Linked DNA regions of Homo sapiens: region 1 is linked to region 2. Evidence: promoter capture Hi-C in human tissues and cell types (Jung and others, 2019). All regions are on one chromosome and are shown on one strand. The core of a region is centred on a gene start or on the middle of the fragment in contact, and the rest is flanking DNA. Distances in the headings are between cores, read along the strand shown.

Region 1 (3,202 bases), core at 90-2,589, 1.0 Mb after region 2:
TCATTGAAATCACAGAGCCTCCAAGTGTTTTTATCCATTTGAATGGGTTACTAGCTGCTAATCTGTCTGCAGCTCCTTCAAGCACTCCAGTTCCTGGCATTAAGTTCACGTGTGCCTGGGATACTTTAAATATTTGTTCTTTCAATTTTGCAATATCCAAATACAAGTTTGTAGAGTGGCCTTCTAGATGCTTTTTTATTCTTTCCCAAATTTTGATTTTATTAAGAGCTATTAACAGTTTCCACAAATGCTTATGTTTAGCTCCTAGAGCAGGCCATATCATTTGAGGCTGAGGTGCCACTATACTGCCATGGTTCCAGATAATAGGAACTCTTGCTGTATTTCTTACCATTTCTATCATCTGACCATTTTGTTCAGATGAGCTGATCACAGTGTGGCCATGGCATGCAGACTGAGAGGTGCAGTTCAAGCTAAACATCCCCATAGGTGACCAATTAATAATGATTCCATAGGAATTGTTGTGCAGCACCTCTGCCTGTTCTGCAAAGCAATCTTCCTAAACAAGTACGTTCATTTTTGCTAACTGGGTCCAATCCTGTTTACAAATATGTTTTTGAGGGCAGTATGCCTCAATTATAGGAGCAGATTTATTATGAGATCAGAAAGCTTGTATAACTGTGTCATAGAGTGATTACATCCAGGCATTATTGCCAGCCAAGATTGATAAATATGCCCAATAAGTATAATTGTCCTCTGTGTCAGCCCTTATTGAAGGAATACTCATGGCAGTGGTGATCATCGCTATCATAGCTACCATTAAATTACTCATTGCGACTGGTTGTCCCACTTTCCTCAGGTTTTCTTCCACCATCTGTGACAGCTTCTTGATCTGTCTCCAGGTGGGTGGCTGTGTTTGACAGGTGTTGCTCGTGACAGTTGGGGTCTTCCTCAGCGTCAGTCTCGACATGGCTGCAACCGGGGGTGGGGGGGGTCCTCAGTTTCCTCCCGGAATCTCTTCCTCAGCATCTGGCTCATGATAAGGTTTCAGGTGTCTTGATGGTATCCAAATCGGCTGTTGAGTCAGTCCTGGAGAAACACAAGCATAACCTCTACCCCAAGTTATTATTTTACCTATTTCCTAACTTTTTGTTATTGGATCTCTCCACCAAACTAGTTGTTCTGCTTCTGTCTTTGCAGCTGGTTTCTGTAGATGCTGTTCAGCTACTGATAGGATCTGGCCTTTAGGCAGGCTCAAAAAATTTAAAGTTAACAATGCTAGATTCAGTTGCATATGGGGTGTCCCGTAGTCCTTGTTTTCCCCCCTTTTTTTTGCTTTTGCAACTGCTGTTTCAGGGAGAGATTCATTCTTTCCACTATGGCTTGTCCTTGAGAATTATATGGGATACCAGTAATGTGTTTAATATTCCGTATAGAGAAAAATGTAGCTAGAGCTCGGCTAGTGTAGCCTGGGGCTTTATCTGTTTTAATAGAAGCTGGAATGCCCATCACTGCAAAACACTGCAAAAGGTGACGCCTGGAAGAGGTGTATGAGCCCTAATGTGAGTGATGTAAAAAGGGTGCATTCTACTCCTAACTGCTGTTTGCAGTTGGGTAAATAAAATCATCAGTTGTTCATCTGCAGGAAATTGTAACTGAGCATTTTCAGTTAATTGTGTGGAATGAATCACGTATGAAGAGTCAGAAATCACATTAATAGGCATATGAAAAGCAGTCACTACCTCAATTACAGCTACAGGCTCCACTTTTTGAGCTGAAGTATAGGGCATCTGAAAAACTTTACTTTTTGAGCCAGAATAAGAAGCTTTACCATTACTAGACCCATCTGTAAAAACATTTTCAGCACCTTCAATTGGTTTAAATTTAGTTATTTTAGGGAGAATCCAATTAGTTAATTTCAAAAATTAAAACAGTTTTGTTTAGGAAAATGGTTATCGAGAATACCCACAAAGTCAGCTTAATTGGTTTGCCAAGTAAGACTATTTATAAAAGCTTGCTGTATTTGTGCCTTTGTGAGAGGGATAATAATTTTTCCAGGATCATATCCATGTAATTTAACAATCCGAGTTCTCCCATTTCCTATCATAGTAGCAATTTGATCCAAATAAGGAGTTAGAGTCCGTGAATTAGTATGTGGAAGAAAAAGCCACTCTACAAGATCTCACTCTTGAACAATAACACCAGTAGGTGAATGCTGAGTTGGAAAAATTAGCAAATCTAGAGTCTTCTCTGGATCTAATCTATTTATTTGAGCTTTATGGACTTGCTTTTCGATTAGCCGCAGCTCTGCCTCAGCTTCTCTTGTTAATTACCGAGGGCTTGTGAGACCAGGATCTCCTCTAAGGATAGAAAATAGATTACTCATGGCATAGGTAGGAATGCCTAGAGCAGGTCGTATCCAATTAATGTCCCCTAGTAATTTTTGAAAGTCCTTTAATGTTTTCAATTGATTCCTATGTATGGTTGCTTTCTGTGGCACAATGGTAGTGTCATTTACTAAGGTCCCCAAGTAGGAGTAAGGAGTAGTAGTCTGAATTTTGTCAGGAGCTATAATTAAACCAGCGCAAGAAATCGAATTTTGTAAGTGATCATAACATTGGAGTAATACTTCTCGAGTGGGGGCAGCACAAAGTATATCATCCATATAATGAATAATGTAACACTGTGAAAACTTTTAACGAGTAGGTTCAATTGCTTGCCCTACATAAGTCTGGCAAATTGTTGGGCTGTTTAACATGCCTTGTGGCAATACTTTCCAGTGAAAACGCTTAGCAGGCTGCAGGTTGTTTACTGCAGGAATTGTAAATGCAAACTGTTCACAGTCTTGCTCAGCTAAGGGGATAGTAAAGAAACAGTCTTTTAAATCTATGACTATTAAAGGCCAATTTTTTGGAATCATAGCAGGAGAAGGCAATCCTGGCTGTAATGTACCCATGGGTTGTATAACTGAATTAATGGCTCTTAAGTCAGTTAACATTCTCCGTTTATCTGATTCTTTTCTTAATTACGAAAACTGGAGAATTCCAAGGGGAAAATGTTGGAGCTATGTGTCCGTTTTCTAATTATTCAGTAACTAATTCCTCTAAAGCCTTCAGTTTCTCTTTACTTAGCGGCCATTGTTCTATCCAAATTGGCTTATCTGTTAACCATTTTAAAGGTATAGGTTCTGGAGGCTTAACAATGGCCGCCATCAAAAATAATATCCTAAACCTTGGCGGAAACT
Region 2 (3,584 bases), core at 735-3,234:
TCCCAAAGTGCTGGGATTACAGGCGTGAGCCACTGTGCCTGGCCAAAAATATTTTTCTTATGCAAGTGATAGTATACTATATACACTGTTATTCACTTTTCTCTTAATATACCTTTAAGACTAATTCATATTAATACATATAACTCATTTCCCAACAGTTACTAGCTGCAGGGTATTCCACCGTGTGGCTGAACTATCATTTATTTATTCAAATTTCTATTAATGGACATTCGGTAGTTTCCAACCTTTTGCTACTGCAGCTAATGCCGCAAATGAGTATCTTTGTTAGTGCCTCATAACATTTTAATTTTATTTGATTTTAATTAACTTAAATTGTAGAACTGAGGCCAGGCATGGTGGCTCACGCCTGTAATCCCAGCATTTTGGGAGGCCGAGGCTGGCAGATCACGTCAGGAGATCGAGACCATCCTGGCTAACATGGTGAAACCCAGTCTCTACTAAAAATACAAAAATTAGCTGGGTGTGATGGCGCCTGCCTGTAATCCCAGCTACTTGGGAGGCTGAGGCAGGAGAGTCACTTGAACCAGGGAGTCAGAGGTTGCAGGGAGCCGAGGTGGCGCCACTGCACTCCAGCCTGGCGACAGAGTGGGACTCCGTCTCCAAAAAAAAAAAAAAAAAAAGTAGAACTGAAGCAATGAAAACATTTTTCCATTAACCTAACTTGGAATAATATTTTGGATATATTTGGGTTAAATAAAATATTAAAATTAATTTCATAGCTGGGTGAGATGGCTCACGCCTATAATCCCAGCACTTTGCGAGGCTGAGGTAGGAACATGTCTTGAGGCCAGGAGTTCAATACCAGCCTGGGCAACATAGCAAGAAAAAAAAAAGTAAATAATAATGATAAATAAAATGAATTTTACCTGTTTATGTCAAAATTAAAATTGCATATGTGGCTTGCATTACACATAAAAACACACACATATATAATTTTTTTTTTTTTTAAAGAGACAGGGTTCTGCTTTGTCGCCCAAGCTGGAGGGCAGTGGTGCAATCATGGTTCACTGCAGTCTCAAACTCCTGGGCTTAAGCGATACTCAGCCTCTTAAATAGCTGGGACTATGGCCACATGCCACCACGCCTAGCTAGTTTTTTAGTTTTAGTAGAGATAGGGTCTTGCTATGTTACCCGGCCAGTCTCCAACTCCTGGCCTTAAGTGATCCTCCTGCCTCGGTGGCTCAAAGTGCAGGGTATATTTCTCTTAGCTAGTATTGCTCTACATTGTTGTAGTCTGGTGGTGGCCTGATATCCCTACTGGACTGAAAACTCCCTGAAGGTAGGAGTCCAGTCTGTCTGGATTTCTCTTGTGTCTCCATAATCACCCAACCTGACATGGAATAGGTGGTTAATCCATTTTTGTTGAATGAGTGGAAAAATGTGCTCTCCCAGGAAGAAACATATGCTTCCCAGCTTCAAGTGTTAGTGAACATCTTCCTAGAAGGCAGGCTGAGGCGGAAAGGGTATTGACTCCGGCTTCTCCACCAGAGGACCTTGCAATTCCAGTCAATTCCCTCGGTAACTCTTATGGAGGAGTGGCAATATACCTTAAAAAAGGAGTGTGTGTTGCGGGGTATTCCGCTGCTTGGTTATGTCACCAGGTGGATTAAATTTGGACAAAATTTCCCAAGGTGTAGGTACTCTACAAACACTAGTTACCCTCAGGAATGTGCGATCAACAAAAGAATGCAAGATAACAAGGCCCCTAGGCAGCCCCTGGGTCTTGTGGCTCCCGTCGAAGGCAGAGCTCTGGAGCCGCCTACGCCGGGGACAGGCGACTACACCTGGGGCCCCTCACCCTCGGGCCTCCTGCACGTGGCAGGGAAGGCAGGGCGTCTCTATCTCAAAGCATTGGCTGCGCCTGTTACCTGCGACAGGATTCCCGACAAGGGACGGGTACGGCGTGTGCACTCAGGAGCTCCTAGAGCTAGGGGCAGCAACTAAGAAGCTACCTGGCGGATGTTGCGAGAGGACTCCGCCCACAGAACGGTTGGCCCCCAACCCCGCAGCCGGCGGACTTCCCGAGGCCAGGGGTCTGAACGCGCGTGCGCATGGGCGCGCGCCCGGCGCGAGAACGCGCGCGCGCTCTCGAAAGAAAAAAAAAAAAAATCCTCTCCGCGGGGTCCCGCGGCAATTTAGGCCGGGGTCTGCCGACGACCGCGCGTGCGCGGGCGTGCATCTACGCCCTCCTCCACCGCCCCCTCCGCTGGGGGTCTAGCGCACTGCTCCGCTTCCCCCGTTTCCCCCGGGCTAGCGTCCTAGGGGTAAGTGACTCGAGCCTGGCAGAGAGTGAGGGAGAGGTTCCGCCGAATGAAGGGAGGAGGTAGACGGGGCCAGGAGAAAGGAGAAACCGCCCCGGCGGGGCGAAGAGCGCGGCTCTCGAGCTGTAGTCTGCAGGAGACACACCTCCCTCCCTCACGCCCCTCGGGGCTGCGGAAGTGCTCTACAGACTGGAGCTGCACGAAGGCGACCAGCGGACTACCGTTCCTAGGAGGCAGCGCGGCGGTGCGCCTACGGCTCCCGGCAGCCCCCGCGCGCCATTCTCTTTTTGAGTTCGCGGCCGGCTAGGGCGAAACTACAGTTCCCAGGAGGACTCGCGCGAAGCGGCTTGGAAGTGGGCAGCCTGGAAGTCACTCGGGCCACCGGAGCTGGCGGCGTCTCCAGCGAGCGGCGCGGAGCTGGACGCCGCGATCGTGGGGCCCGCGAGGCGGGCAGCCGGGGCGTCCAGGTACGTGGCTCCGGGTGCAGGATCGGCCTCGCGCAAGGGTGGCGGGGAATCGGTGGCTGCCCGGACCCCGAGGGTCAGCGCGGGCGGACGGCCGGGTGTGGGTACTGGCCGTGGGGGGCGGCGGCGCCGGGACTCGCGCCCTCCGGACCCAGCCGGACTCGTGCCCGCATGGCTCAACTTTCCAGGCGTGCACCCCGGCGCTGTGGTGAAGAGCTTGGAGGCGGGGAGCGGTGGATTCGCGTCCCGGCTGTGCCACTCGGGAGCCGCGATCTGGGAAAACCGCGCCGAACCTCAATTTCCCCTGCAGTAAAACGGAGTAGGAGAGCATCTTGGCGGAGACTCTGTTGAGATAATATAATAAAACATTTGGCACATAGGAGGCACTTACTACGTATTTGGGTTATTGTTAGCTCTCCGAAAAATGAGGTGAAGATGTTATCGATTGCATAGGGTGAGGATTAGTTGAGCGTGTGCATGTAAAGAGGTGAGTCCTTAGTTAGCACCCAATGCAGGCTAGCTGCTGTTAACCGAGATTATTTTGTTAAGAGCGTTGGTTTGGAAGGCAGAGAGACCCCAGGTTCAAATTTGAACATTTACCAGCTGTGTGACTTTGGGCAACTGGCTTCACCTCTCTGTGCCTTGGTTTCCCTATCTATAAAATGGGGATTTAAATAGCAACCACTTCGTCGAGTTGTTTTCAGGATGCAGTGAGAATACCATGTGTAAAGTGCTTAGCACAGCAGCTGGCATATAACGCTCAGTAAATGGTACCATTTATTCAGCGTTTTCCTAGTGGCCCAGAGACCCTCTGAGGGTGGGGCTCTGGCCGTAGTAT

The links. Contacts are between HindIII fragments. The study calls those that stand out against the background at their distance.
Region 1: a contact is called between a fragment that was not itself captured here and the fragment with the promoter of WDR87 in region 2, in 1 of the 25 tissues and cell types used here (dorsolateral prefrontal cortex).

Annotation. Positions count from the first base shown.
Region 1 is chr19:38,935,806-38,939,007 of GRCh38, forward strand. LOC124904713 (a long non-coding RNA gene) reads right to left here. Exons shown (of 2, transcript XR_007067253.1): 2 at 1-1,047. Among named protein-coding and RNA genes, the nearest start is that of MRPS12, 6.5 kb to the left of the region's middle. The HindIII fragment of the contact is 4,061 bases long and covers 1-3,202 here.
Region 2 is chr19:37,904,610-37,908,193 of GRCh38, forward strand. It overlaps WDR87 (WD repeat domain 87), which reads right to left and starts at 1,985. Exons shown (of 6, transcript NM_001291088.2): 1 at 1,890-1,985. SIPA1L3 (signal induced proliferation associated 1 like 3) reads left to right here and starts at 2,599. Exons shown (of 22, transcript NM_015073.3): 1 at 2,599-2,749. RefSeq lists a silencer at 2,711-2,950 and an enhancer at 3,251-3,310. The HindIII fragment of the contact is 24,391 bases long and covers 1-3,584 here.